Regions from separate parts of the Homo sapiens genome. Here region 2 is linked to region 1. The links are contacts of gene promoters, found by promoter capture Hi-C in blood cells and fetal thymus (Javierre and others, 2016). All regions are on one chromosome and are shown on one strand. Each heading gives the region's core, a stretch centred on a gene start or on the middle of the fragment in contact. The rest is flanking DNA. Distances are from core to core; before and after follow the strand shown.

Region 1 (2,888 bases), core at 140-2,639:
GCTGACCCTCAAAATACAGATTCTCAATATGGAGAGGTCAAAGGAAGGGACCTTAGAAATCTACTTGAGTTCCTTCATTTGGGGGATGAGGAAAAGATCTGATTAAATATTTAAGATAAAGCTCAAATTTTAAAAAAGAAACTCTGGTCAGCGCTGGCATTTTGAGGAAACAGAGGGGTTTTGTTTTATGTGTGTGAATCTACTGGTGTGTTTAAGTATTAGAATATTTCAAGAGCCATTCTACTGTTGTTATGGCTTTAGAAAGGGGTTGGGCAATCATTAAGAATTCGATTCAAGATTCTAGACCATCAAGAATCCACCTTGAGATCAAACAATACTCTTGATTCGTATCATGCTTTGTAAATGCTGAATCTTCAATAAAGGAACTGTAACAGAATAAACAGGGATGGTCAACGAATCACACACCTACAGCCAATTGGAGACACCACACATATTTTAGGTGCCATTTTGAATAAGGCTAGGGAGCAGCAAGGTCCATTCCCTAAGTAAAAGTGATCCCTGGCCAGTACCCTGGACTGTCAGCAAGCAAACAATACAAGCCCCTGTCAAACGCCAATCAAGAAATGACACCCCGGGGATATGTGTATTCATCTACTTCTGAAAGCTCACACCACGTTTCGGATACAGAAATCCAATGCAACGTTTGATGAAACGAAAACGAAGCAAAAAGGTTTACAATCTGCCTCGGGACAAAACTAAAACTGGTACCAAAGGGGCGGTCGAACAAAGGCAAGGGGCAAGAGAAGGGCGAAGGACGACGAAGGGCGGCGAACGCCGCTTGGCAACCCCAAGAAGGGTCGCTCCATCCCTCCCCTTCTTCCCCGCTCCCTTCCACGGCGACCACTGAGAAGCCCAAAGGAATCTCCCTGCACCTCCAGCCTGGCCCAGCGCCCCAGGACACACCCTCACTTTCACCGCACACCAGGGCAGCGTCAGAAACTATTCTGCAGAGTCACGACTTTGAGAGGCTTCCCCATCTCCACTCCCCCCACCCATCGGTGGCTCAGGGGGACGGCGCTCCCCTGCCACGCAGGGCTCCGACCCAGCCGGGAGAGGGGACGGTGCCTGGGTCATCTCCGCGCCGCCGGCCCCGCGCACCCCACCCCGGCCCCTCCCAGTCCATGCCGGGTGCCCGCCCGTGCAGGCCAGGCCTACGCGGAGGCCTAGCGCCGGTCCGGTGTGCTGCGCGCGAGGCCAGGACAGGGCTCACCGGAGTAGAGCGGCATGGCGGGGCGCGGCGGGAGGCGGCGGCGCAGGAGAGCTGGGCCTGACGAGGGCGGCAAAGGGACGGGGACCAGGAGCAGCTGCGGCGGCGGCCGAGGCGGAGGCGCGGTGGTGGCGGCGGCTTCGGTGCGACGAGTCTCATTCAAACCGGCCACTGGCGATGACGCAGCAACACGCAAAACACCCGTGCAGCTCCGGAGCGACTGCAGCGAGGAGACTGGGCGGCAGGACCGGGGCGGGGCCTAGAGGTGGCGAGAGGAGGGAGGAGGGGGAAGGCGGTGGAGGGGTGGCGGGAAGGAAGGAGGGAGCAAGTGAGGGACGGGCGCGGGGCCCCATCCACCGCAGCAGGTGCGCGCCTGCGCACTGCCGCCCATCGCCCTGCGCGCACTGGCCACGTGGTCCTGGCGCGGCCCAGCCCTGCGGCAGATGAAGTGGGAACTTGGTATCCCACCTGCTGTCTGAGGCTGAGGCGGGAGAATCGCTTGAGCCCAGGAGGTCGAGGCTGCAGTGAGCTGTGATCGTGCCACCGCACTCCAGCCTGGGCGACAGAGCGAGACCCTGCCTCAAAATAAAATAAATAAAATTAGTGGTTGTAAAGTCAGAGGTGTTTTGAAACCCAGCTGTTACTAGCTAGCTGTATGATGTCTGCAAACCTCAGTTTTCTTTTCACCCACACCTCATTTTATTGCGTTCTATATATATATATTTATATATTTTTATATATTTATATATTTTTATATATTTATATATATTTATATATTTATATATATTTATATATATATATATATAAATTGAAGGTTTGTGGCAACCCTGGGTTAGTAAGTCCATCAGTTCTGTTTTTCTAACAGCATGTGCTCACTTCGTGTCTCTGTGTCACATTTTGGTAATTCTCACAATATTTTGAACTTTTTAAATACTATTATATCTGTTCCAGTGATCTATGATTACTATTTTAGTTGTTTTGGGGTGCCACTAACCACCCCCGTGTAAAACAGCTAACTCCAATGTTTTGTGTATTCTGACTGCTCTGGCAACAAGTCTTTTCCCACAAGGGTTCAAGGCTTGAGTTCAGGACACAACTGCAGGTGTGGTGGCAATAGCAAGAGAACTAGAATTAGAAGTGGAGCCCACAGATGTGACTGAATTGCTGCAATCTCAAGACAAAGCTTTAATGGGCAAGGAGTCGCTTCTTATGGATAAGCAAAGAAAGTGGTTTCTTGAGATGGAAACTACTCCTGGTGAAGACGCTGTGAACACTGTTGAATGACAACAAAGGATTTAGAATATCATAAACTATGGAACTGTTGATAAAACAGCAGCAGAATTTGACAGGATTGACTCTAATTTTGAAAGAAATTCAAATTTGAAAGTTCTTCTGTGGGTAAAATGCTGAACAGCACTGCATGTCACAGGGAAAACTTTCATGAAAGGAAGAGTCAATCGACGTGGCAGATTTCATTATTGTCTTATTTTAAGAAATTGCCACAGCTACCCCAAACTTTAGCATCCACCGCTCTGATCAGTCAGCAGCCATCAACATTAAGGCAAGCCCTCTGCCAGCAAAAAGATGATGATTCACTGATAGCTCAGATGATCCTTAGCATTTTTTAGCAGTAAAGTTTTGTTTGTTTGTTTTGAGACAG
Region 2 (2,700 bases), core at 171-2,670, 460 kb before region 1:
GGCTGAGGCGGGTGGATCACCTGATGTCAGGAGTTTGAGAACAGCCTGGCCAACATAGTAAAACCCTGTCTCTGCTAGAAATACAAAAATTAGCTGGTCATGATGGTGGGTGCCTGTAATCCCAGCCACTTCAGAGGCTGAAGCAGGAGAATCGCTTGAACCCAGGAGGCGGAGGTTGCAGTGAGCCAAGATCGTGCCATTGTCCTTTAGCCTGGGCAACAAGAGTAAGACTCTGTCTCAAAAAAAAAAAAAAAGTTGTTTCTCCAAGGCAAGTAACAATACCTCCAGGATTTTCTCAATCAGTCCCAATTTTACATATTCTGCTCATTGTCCTCATAAGCCAAAATCCTAATATTCCCAATTCCAAACTACAGTGGCTGTGTACCCTTGGGCAAATTACTTAATACATATAAGCCTTAGTCTCCTCATTTGCAAATAAGAATAATAGGAATAACAGTATCTACTTCTCAAGGTCTTTGCATTAAATGAGCTAAACAAGCAAGGCATCTATTATTATACCTAGTATCCATTATCATAGGCAAGACATCTGTTATTATAACTAGTCCAGTATAATAACTAGTATCTCTCAGGCTTCCTTCCATTCACTGCCCAGAAGCAGGACAAAAAACAGTTACCAAATCACAGGTCCCAAGTTTTGGAAGTGAAACATTGCCATGGAAGAAGTAGACCTCTGTCTAGTAAACATTCCTAAGGAATATCCTATCGACGCCTTCCGTTTCCTGCTAGACATTGTACCAACTGGCAGATTCACGCTTATAACTCTATTCCTATAGATGACAGTTTATCAAAAGCGCTATATTAACCTGGCATTGAGCCAGGCATGGTGGCTAGTGCCTGTGATCCCAGCTACTCGGGAAGTGAGGCAGGAGGATCCCTTGAGCCCAGGAGTTCAAGACCAGCCTGAGCAACATAGCAAGACCCCATTTCATTAAAAACACATACAAATAAAACCTGATTTGGAGGTCAAGTCACTCTAACCTTCTCTAGGGTTTCCTACTTAATAAGTTTCAGATAGTCTCACTAAATATTAATAAGGAGGGGTGGAGGAAGGGGACAGTGAGGATGCTGGGTCACCACTGAGCAGTACTCTTGAGAATGGGTGGGGCTCAATACTGGGAGACTAGGGTTGCTAACACCATATTTGCCAATTCATAATTTGTCTAAACTGACCTTTATTCTAGGCTTTAAGTAATTTTAGGGAGGGATACTCAGGGTTAAACAGATTTTTTTTTTCCGATTAACTTTCTAATTGAGTGCCTCAAACTTAAGAGTATAATTCAATGAATTTTTGTACAATAAGATTTTTAAGAATAAACAAAAATTCTACTAGTTGCTTGGATTCTTCAGGGCCAGAAGTGAAATCCACATTTGCTTACTTGACCCACCCAAAGTGGAATATTCTTGTTAAAGCTGTATACCCTGTCCTCCTTGCCAGGAGGTTCAGGGAAGTGAGAAAAGCGGAAAATCACTGGGTCCCCCGTGCACACATCTGCTGACTTTATCTCAGTTCATTCATTACAGTGTTGGAGTAACATGTTAATTAACAAACATCTCAAACCCCAGTTTTCTTAGCTATAAAATGAAAGTAGTGGTTTACCCAGATGTTCAAAACATTCCATGTGATAATGTGTTTTGTGAAGAGTGTATGAGTGCTATCTAGTGTCTCTATTCCCAGATGGCCAGGCTCACAAGCCCACCAGGGAAGATCCCAGCTGGAGGGGCTTCCACATTTTCCTGATGAGGAGCTATTTTAGATTTCCTCAAAATCTTTTGATTGCTGCCAAAAGGGAGAAGGGTTTGCAGCTGCTGGTCAGGCATTCTCCTTTCCTTGCCAGAACCCTGACTGACTCAGGGCAGTAGGTGAGGCTGCAACATCAACCAGTCCGGTGACGCTGACACACAGCTTTGGGGTCAGCCTGTCACACTACCCGGCTCCAGTTGCTTAACGGACTCCCAGAGGCCATGATCCTCAGAAGTAAAAAGATGTAAGCAGCAATCTGGAATTCAGTGGCCCCCAACTTTATAGATAGAGGGATAGATAGAAAATATTAGAACTTCCACTTGTATTTTTAAATTAAAAATCTGACTGGGGTGGGGGGAATGGGGCATTGTTTAATATGTATAGACTTTCAGTTTTTGCAAGATGAAAATAATTCTGGAGATTGGTTGCACAACAGTATGAATGTATTTAACACTACTGAACGTTACACTTAAAAATGGTTATGATGGTAAATTTTGTTATATGTATTTTACAACTTAACATTTTTCAAAAAATAAAAATAAATTTAAAAAGTAATTTACTCTCAACATTAAAATTGAAAATATTTTCCAAATTATTTTTGTTACAGTTTTAATTTCCTCTTTGATTTAAGGGTAATGTTTGAAGATAACCTTTTTTAAAAAAGTCATTGTTTTGAGTGTGATGTTAATTATTAATGTCATTAAACTGCAAGCTATTCAATGTCTATAATTTAGAAATTTACTGAACTTTATACTGTGGCATATGAACAATTTTTTACATCTTCCAAAGACATTTGAATATAATATGTATTCTCCATTGATAAAATATGTAATTCAAGCTATAGCTGTTAAATAAAGCTATTTGAATTTGAAAAAGTGATTAGGCTGATGCATTATTGGATATACATGGTACTCTCTTGAGATGCATATGTCAGATAC

Evidence for each region. Contacts are between HindIII fragments. The CHiCAGO score rates a contact against its expected background, and 5 or more counts as called.
Region 2: a fragment that was not itself captured here is called in contact with the fragment with the promoter of USP14 in region 1 in 4 of 17 cell types (M1 macrophages, monocytes, total CD4 T cells and 1 more); the score reaches 6.9 in M1 macrophages.

What each region holds. Positions count from the first base shown.
Region 1 is chr18:157,058-159,945 of GRCh38, reverse strand. USP14 (ubiquitin specific peptidase 14) reads right to left here and starts at 1,389. Exons shown (of 16, transcript NM_005151.4): 1 at 1,232-1,389. The coding sequence starts at 1,247. It overlaps LOC105371951 (a long non-coding RNA gene), which reads right to left. Exons shown (of 4, transcript XR_935081.2): 4 at 1,777-1,803. RefSeq lists silencers at 998-1,177, 1,448-1,717. The HindIII fragment of the contact is 8,571 bases long and covers 1-2,413 here.
Region 2 is chr18:620,589-623,288 of GRCh38, reverse strand. All of the region lies in intron 4 of CLUL1 (clusterin like 1), which reads right to left. LOC105371952 (a long non-coding RNA gene) reads left to right here. Exons shown (of 7, transcript XR_935082.4): 7 at 1-2,637. Among named protein-coding and RNA genes, the nearest start is that of CLUL1, 25 kb to the right of the region's middle. The HindIII fragment of the contact is 4,727 bases long and covers 1-2,700 here.